Regions from separate parts of the Homo sapiens genome. Here region 1 is linked to region 2. The links are contacts of gene promoters, found by promoter capture Hi-C in human tissues and cell types (Jung and others, 2019). All regions are on one chromosome and are shown on one strand. The core of a region is centred on a gene start or on the middle of the fragment in contact, and the rest is flanking DNA. Distances in the headings are between cores, read along the strand shown. Region 1 has its middle 72 kb from the start of EMB. Region 2 holds the start of EMB (embigin).

What was found. Contacts are between HindIII fragments. The study calls those that stand out against the background at their distance.
Region 1: a fragment that was not itself captured here is called in contact with the fragment with the promoter of EMB in region 2 in 2 of the 25 tissues and cell types used here (H1 embryonic stem cells and mesendoderm cells).

What each region holds. Positions count from the first base shown.
Region 1 is chr5:50,367,310-50,370,473 of GRCh38, reverse strand. No RefSeq gene overlaps it. Among named protein-coding and RNA genes, the nearest start is that of EMB, 72 kb to the left of the region's middle. The HindIII fragment of the contact is 4,770 bases long and covers 1-3,164 here.
Region 2 is chr5:50,439,805-50,443,147 of GRCh38, reverse strand. It overlaps EMB (embigin), which reads left to right and starts at 1,860. Exons shown (of 9, transcript NM_198449.3): 1 at 1,860-2,108. The coding sequence starts at 1,997. RefSeq lists silencers at 1,917-2,046, 2,127-2,316. The HindIII fragment of the contact is 6,914 bases long and covers 1-2,883 here.

The DNA.
Region 1 (3,164 bases), core at 265-2,764, 72 kb after region 2:
GCTGCAGACCTTCATGGTGAGTGTTACAGCTCATAAAAGCAGTGTGGACCCAAAGAGTGAGCAGTAGCAAGGTTTATTGCAAAGAGCGAAAGAACAAAGCTTCTACAGTGTGGAAGGGGACCCAAGTGGGTTGCCACTGCTGGCTCAGGCAGCCACATTTTATTCTCTTATCTGGCCCCACCCACATCCTGCTGATTGGTAGAGCTGAGTGGTCTGTTTTGACAGGGTGCTGATTGGTGCATTTACAATCCCTGAGCTAGACACAAAGGTTCTCCATGTCCCCACCAGATTAGCTAGGTACAGAGTGTCGATTGGTGCATTCACAAACCCTGAGCTAGATACAGGGTGCTGATTCGTGTGTTTACAAACCTTGAGCTAGATACAGAGTGCCGATTGGTGTATTTACAATCCCTTAGCTAGACATAAATGTTCTCCAAGGCCCAACCAGAGTAGCTAGATACAGAGTGTCGATTGGTGCCTTCACAAACCCTGAGCTAGACACACGGTGCTGATTGGTGTATTTACAATCACTTAGCTAGACATAAAGTTTCTCCATGTCCCCACCAGACTCAGGAGCCCAGCTGGCTTCACCCTGTGGATCCCACACCGGGGCTGCAGGTGGAGCTGCCGGCCAGTCCCACACCATGCACCCACACTCCTCAGCCCTTGGGTGGTCAATGGGACTGGGCACCATGAAGCAGGGTTGGCGCTCTTTGGGGAGGCTCGGGCCACACAGAAGCCCACAGAGGGGGTGGGAGGCTCAGGCATGGTGGGCTGCAGGTCCCAAGCCCTGCCCCGTGGGAAGGCAGCTAAGGCCTGGCGAGAAATTGAGCACAGTGCCAGTGGGCTGGCACTGCTGGGGGACCCAGTACCCCCTCTACAGCCGCTGGCCCGGGTGCTAAGCCCCTCAATGCCTGGGGCTGGCAGGGCTGGCCGGCTGCTCCAAGTGCAGGGCCCACCAAGCCCACACCCACCCAGAACTCCAGCTGGCCTGCAAGCACCATGTGCAGCCCCAGTTCCCACTCGCGCCTCTCCCTCTACACCTCCCTGCCAGCTGAGGGAGCCGGCTCCGGCCTTGGCCAGCCCAGAAAGGGGTTCCCACAGTGCAGCGGTGGGCTGAAGGGCTCCTCAAGTGCTGCCAAAGTGGGAGCCCAGGCAGAGGAGGTGCCAAGAGTGAGTGAGGGCTGTGAGGACTGCCAGCATGCTGTCATCTCTCATAAGGACTTGCTTTATGAATCTGGGTGTTCCTATATTGGGTGCATATATATTTAGGATAGTTAGCTCTTCTTGTTGAATTGATCCCTTTACCATGATGTAAGGGCCTTCTTTATCTCTTTTGATCTTTGTTGGTTTAAAGTCTGTTTTATCAGAGACTGGGATTGCAACCCCTGCCTTTTTTTGTTCTCCATATACTTGGTAGATCTTCCTCCAATCCTTTATTTTGAGACTATGTGTGTCTCTGCATGTGAGATGGGTTTCCTGAATACAGCACACTGGTGGGTCTTGACTCTTTATCCAATTTACCAGTCTGTGTCTTTTAATTGGAACATTTAGCCCACTTACATTTAAGGTTAATATTGTTATGTGTGAATTTGATCCTGTCATTATGATGTTAGCTGGTTATTTTGCTCATTAGTTGACGCAGTTTCTTCCTAGCCTCAAAAGTCTTTACAATTTGACATGTTTTTGCAGTGACTGGTTTCGGTTTTTCCTTTCCATGTTTAGTACTTCCTTCAGGAACTCTTTTAGGGCAGGCCTGGTGGTGACAAAATCTCTCAGCATTTGCTTTTCTGTGAAGTATTTTATTTCTCCTTCCCTTATGAAGCTTAGTTTGGCTGGATATGAAATTCTGGGTTGAAAATTCTTTTCTTTAAGAATGTTGAATATTGGCCCCCACTCTCTTCTGGCTTGCCTAGTTTCTGCCGAGAGATCCGCTGTTAGTGTGATGGGCTTCCCTTTGTGGGTAACCCAACCTTTCTCTCTGGCTGCCCTTAACATTTTTTCCTTCATTTCAACTTTGGTGACTCTGACAATTATGTGTCTTGGAGTTGCTCTCCTCGAGGAGTATCTTTGTGGCATTCTCTGTATTTCCTGAATTTGAATGTTGGCCTGCCTTGCTAGATTGGGGAAGGTCTCCTGGATAATACCCTGCAGAGTGCTTCCCAACTTGGTTCCATTCACCCCATCACTCTCAGGTACACCAATCAGATGTAGATTCGGTCTTTTCACATAGTCCTATATTTCTTGGAGGCTTTGTTCATTTCTTTTTATTCTTTGTTCTCTAAACTTCTCACTTCATTTCATTCATTTCATCTTCCATCATTGATACCCTTTCTTCCACTTGATCGAATCAGCTACTGAGGCTTGTGCATTCATCACGTAGTTCTTGTGCCTTGGTTTTCAGCTCCATCAGTCCTTTAAGGACCTCTCTGCATTGGTTATTCTAGTTAGCCATTTGTTTACTTTTTTTTCAAGCTTTTTAAGTTCTTTGGCATGGGTTCGAACTTCCTCCTTTAGCTTGGGGTAGTTTGATCATCTGAAGCCTTCTTCTCTCAACTTGTCAAAATCATTCTCCATCCAGCTTTGTTCCATTGCTTGTGAGGAGCTGCATTCCTTTGGAGGAGGAGAGGTGCTCTGATTTTTAGAGTTTCCAGTTTTTCTGCTCTGTTTTTTCCCCATATCTGTGGTTTTATCTACCTTTGGTCTTTGATGATGGTGATGTACAGATGGGGTTTTGGTGTGGATGTCCTTTCTGTTTGTCAGTTTTCCTTCTAACAGTCAGGACCCTCAGCTGCAGGTCTGCTGGAGTTTGCTGGAGGTCCACTCCAGACTTGTTTGCCCGGGTATCAGCAGCGGAGGCTGCAGAACAGCAGATATTGGTGAACCGCAAATGTTGCTGCCTGATCATTCCTCTGGAAGTTTTGTCTCAGAGGAGTACCCGGGTGTGTGAGGTGTCATTCTGCCCCTACTGGGGGGTGCCTCCCAGTTAGACTACTTGGGGGTCAGGGACCCACTTGAGGAGGCAGTCTGTCCTTTCTCAGATCTCCAGCTGCATGCTGGGAGAGCCACTACTCTTTTCAAGGCTGTCAGACAGGGACATTTAAGTCTGCAGAGGATTCTGCTGCCTTTTGTTTGGCTGTGCCCTGCCCCTAGAAGTTGAGTCT
Region 2 (3,343 bases), core at 611-3,110:
TAAGCTTGTTTTAAAGGATATGGAGCATTTGAAAAAGTGGAATGTACATAAGGCTGGAAATATCAAATATCTAAATATAGAACAGGAACAGTGATGAAAAGACTTTCAAAATGCTTAGCAAAATGAGAATTATATTTCTTTCTCAACTCTTTTGTTCCAACAGCAAAAGCAACAGTGGGGATCAGCATCAACTTGGGTAAGTAAGTTTTTCTGGTCATAAATAGGCTGATTCAACTGAAAAAAATGTTTCTTTAAGAAGGGTGAATTTGTGTCTAAGGATTTTATGAGACTAACTGGGAAAAGTCAGTCAGAGTTTAGTTTGAGGTGAGAAGTGCTTACTGTTGACACTCTACCTAATTATAGGGAAATGTGTGCAGTTAGTCCTGAGACCAGATGCAGGGTTGAAAGAAAGAGGTGTGATGTAGCAGCCATTGATTAGGCAATTTGGGTTTAGCAAGCCCAGTCAATGCCCTCAGAGGGTCAACAGTGTATAAGATTTAGTCCTTGAAGGCATCTTTTAAAGTTTCATTCAGAAGATTTTAATAATTTTGACCATAATTTTCTGAGAAGAGGCTTTTCTGAGATTTGTCATTCACAGATAAACAGTTGTCTAATTTGTGTGTGTGTGTGTGTACATGTGTGCATGCGTGCATTTGTGCATGTGTGCCTATCTAGCCTCTTTTGAACACAATGGTAGATTGGCACCTGGTAGATAATATTGTTGAATGAATTGTATTATTCATATTATCTCACTGCCAATTTGAAGAATCTACATTCTGTTTCCAAAGTTTTGTGCATATAATACTAAACCAGAAACAGACGTGTTTTAGTAATACGTACCAATTACAAATTAACCATTCCTGCCTGGAATAAACACAGGTTTTGTTAAATAGCTCAATTTTCAAAATTTGTCTCATGTTATTTCCAATCCTTTTTTTTTTAACGCCGATATATTTTGAATTTACGAATGTGAAAGCTGAACTTCAAAAAAATAAAGGGAGAGGAAACAAAGCTCGTGAAAAATTTTAAAAATATCTTTTAATGCGTTATAACATCCTGGAGAGAAATCAAATCAATGTGTTTCAATGTTACAATATAGATTTCTCCTCCCCTCCCGGATAAAGCACTAATTTATTTAATTTGGTTCAGAGCACTGAATATTCCAAGCTACAGCCTTGTGGGTAAGAGCATTATCTTAAAGAGTGTTCGGATTTAACAAAGGTCAATGTCTTGTGCAGTTTACATAGTATCTACTCTCAGTAGCTTTTGCTTCTTGAGCTCTAGGTGGCTCCTCAGAAGCTGTTAGGCTTAACAAACAAAAATAAAGTAAAATCAGACACGGTATGGGGCCTTGGGACTCTAAAACCTTCATCCGGAGAAAATCAGTTAAGCCTTCAGAGACTAGAAGAGAGAATGTGTGTGATTGGTAGGCAAAGCAAAGAAAGATTAACACAAGTTGTCTGGCAGCTGGATAAAACCTTACACCTGCGCAAAAATAAGCCTCCCTCGTAAGAAAGCCCAAAGATGTCCGGGGTCCGGGAGGAGAAAAGTGTTTCTCATCTGTCCCATCAAAGCAAATTAGTGAAACCTGCCTCAGGTGAAGTGCAAAGGCCAGTCTGTAGGCAGAGTTTCGACCTCTCCCCACGAGATTGGCTAGACATCACCTGCCCAAGCTCTCTCCCGACCTGCTAGAGCCGAGAGGGCGGAGGCCGGAGAGGCTGCAGCCGGGAAGTAGCACCGCCACCGCACATCCGGGAACGCCAGCAGCCGGCTGAGGGCTGCATAACTGATGGAGGGCCGGGCGCGGTAAGAGCGTCTCGGGGGAGTGGGGCAAGGCGGCCGGGCCCCTCCCATTCCGCCTTTTCTTCAGCGTCCTACCCGCGGCACTGGCTGCGAGCGCCGGGCCACCTGCGAGTGTGCGCAGGGACTCTGGACACCCGCGGCGGCGAGCTGAGGGAGCAGTCTCCACGAGGACCCAGGCGGACCCTCTGGCGCCATGCGCGCCCTCCCCGGCCTGCTGGAGGCCAGGGCGCGTACGCCCCGGCTGCTCCTCCTCCAGTGCCTTCTCGCTGCCGCGCGCCCAAGCTCGGCGGACGGCAGTGCCCCAGGTGTGATGGGTACAGGGTCCAGGGTAGGGAGGGCGGAGGGCGCGCGAGGCTCGGGTCCCCGCGGGCAGAGGGCATCGCCGGCGCGCCGGGCAAGGGTGGCGGGGAGAGGCGCGGGGATGCTGGTAAGGGCGGGTGGGAGAGTCGGCGGCGGCCTCCCATTAGCTACGTTTGTGTCACCTAAGCTGAACCCTGAAACTGCTGCGGCTCGCGTTCCTGCGCTCTTTGGGGCGAGTCTTGAACGAACAGCGCCCCGCGAGTCGGGCGCGTAGGTAACAGGGCAGAGTCTGGTTTTTCCTAGGAAGAAGGCAGTGGGGTGTGTGGGTGGTTGCAGGGACCAGCTAGCGACTTGGCTTGGGCAAATATGGCATGAATTTTGAAAGCCACATTTCCCCAAGGCCTACTCCCTTTTCTTGATTCGAGAGTAAGGCTCGAGTATCACCTCCTTCCCTCCTCTTGGCAGGTGGGTTGGCTTTGAGGATTTTTTTTTTTTTTTTTTTTTTTTTTTTGAGACGGAGTTTTACTCTTGTTGCCCAGGCTGGAGTGCAATGGCGTGATCTCGGCTCACCGCAACCTCCTCCTCCCGGGTTCAAGCGATTCTCCTCTGTCAGCCTCCAGAGTAGCTGGGATTACAGGCATGCGCCACCACGCCGGGCTAATTTTATATTTTTAGTAGAGACTGGGCTTCTCCACATTGGTCAGTCTGGTCTCGAACTCCCAACCTGAGGTGATCCGCCCGCTTCGGCCTCCCAAAGTGCTGGGATTACAGGCGTGAGCCACCTCACCTTGCCGAGGATGTTTTTTTAGAGCTGAGTAGGGGAAAAAACATCATAACCAACTAGCCAACCAAAGATCCACAACTTACAGGATAACGTGTGTGTATCTTCATTTTACACCGTGGTCTTTGAAAACAAAATGTGTGTGTGCATGTGTGTGTGTGTATGTGTGAGATTTTTGCTTGTTGTTTTATTGTTTAAGACACTTTGACAGAGGGATTACGTGCAAAACATTAACAAAGCCAACACGAAAGTTGCCATTCTACCTTCACCTGTTTATAATTACTTTTCATATTGAAAGGATTCCATCCAACCTATTGCAAGTTTCTGTGTCATAAATGTTACCAGCCAGTAAGGGTAATAAAAGACCACCTCTCAAGCTGGTAAATATTGGCCACCAGTAACTAAAATTGGGACATTATTCTGCAAAAAGTTTTCAAACTCTCATGGGAATTTATTTTC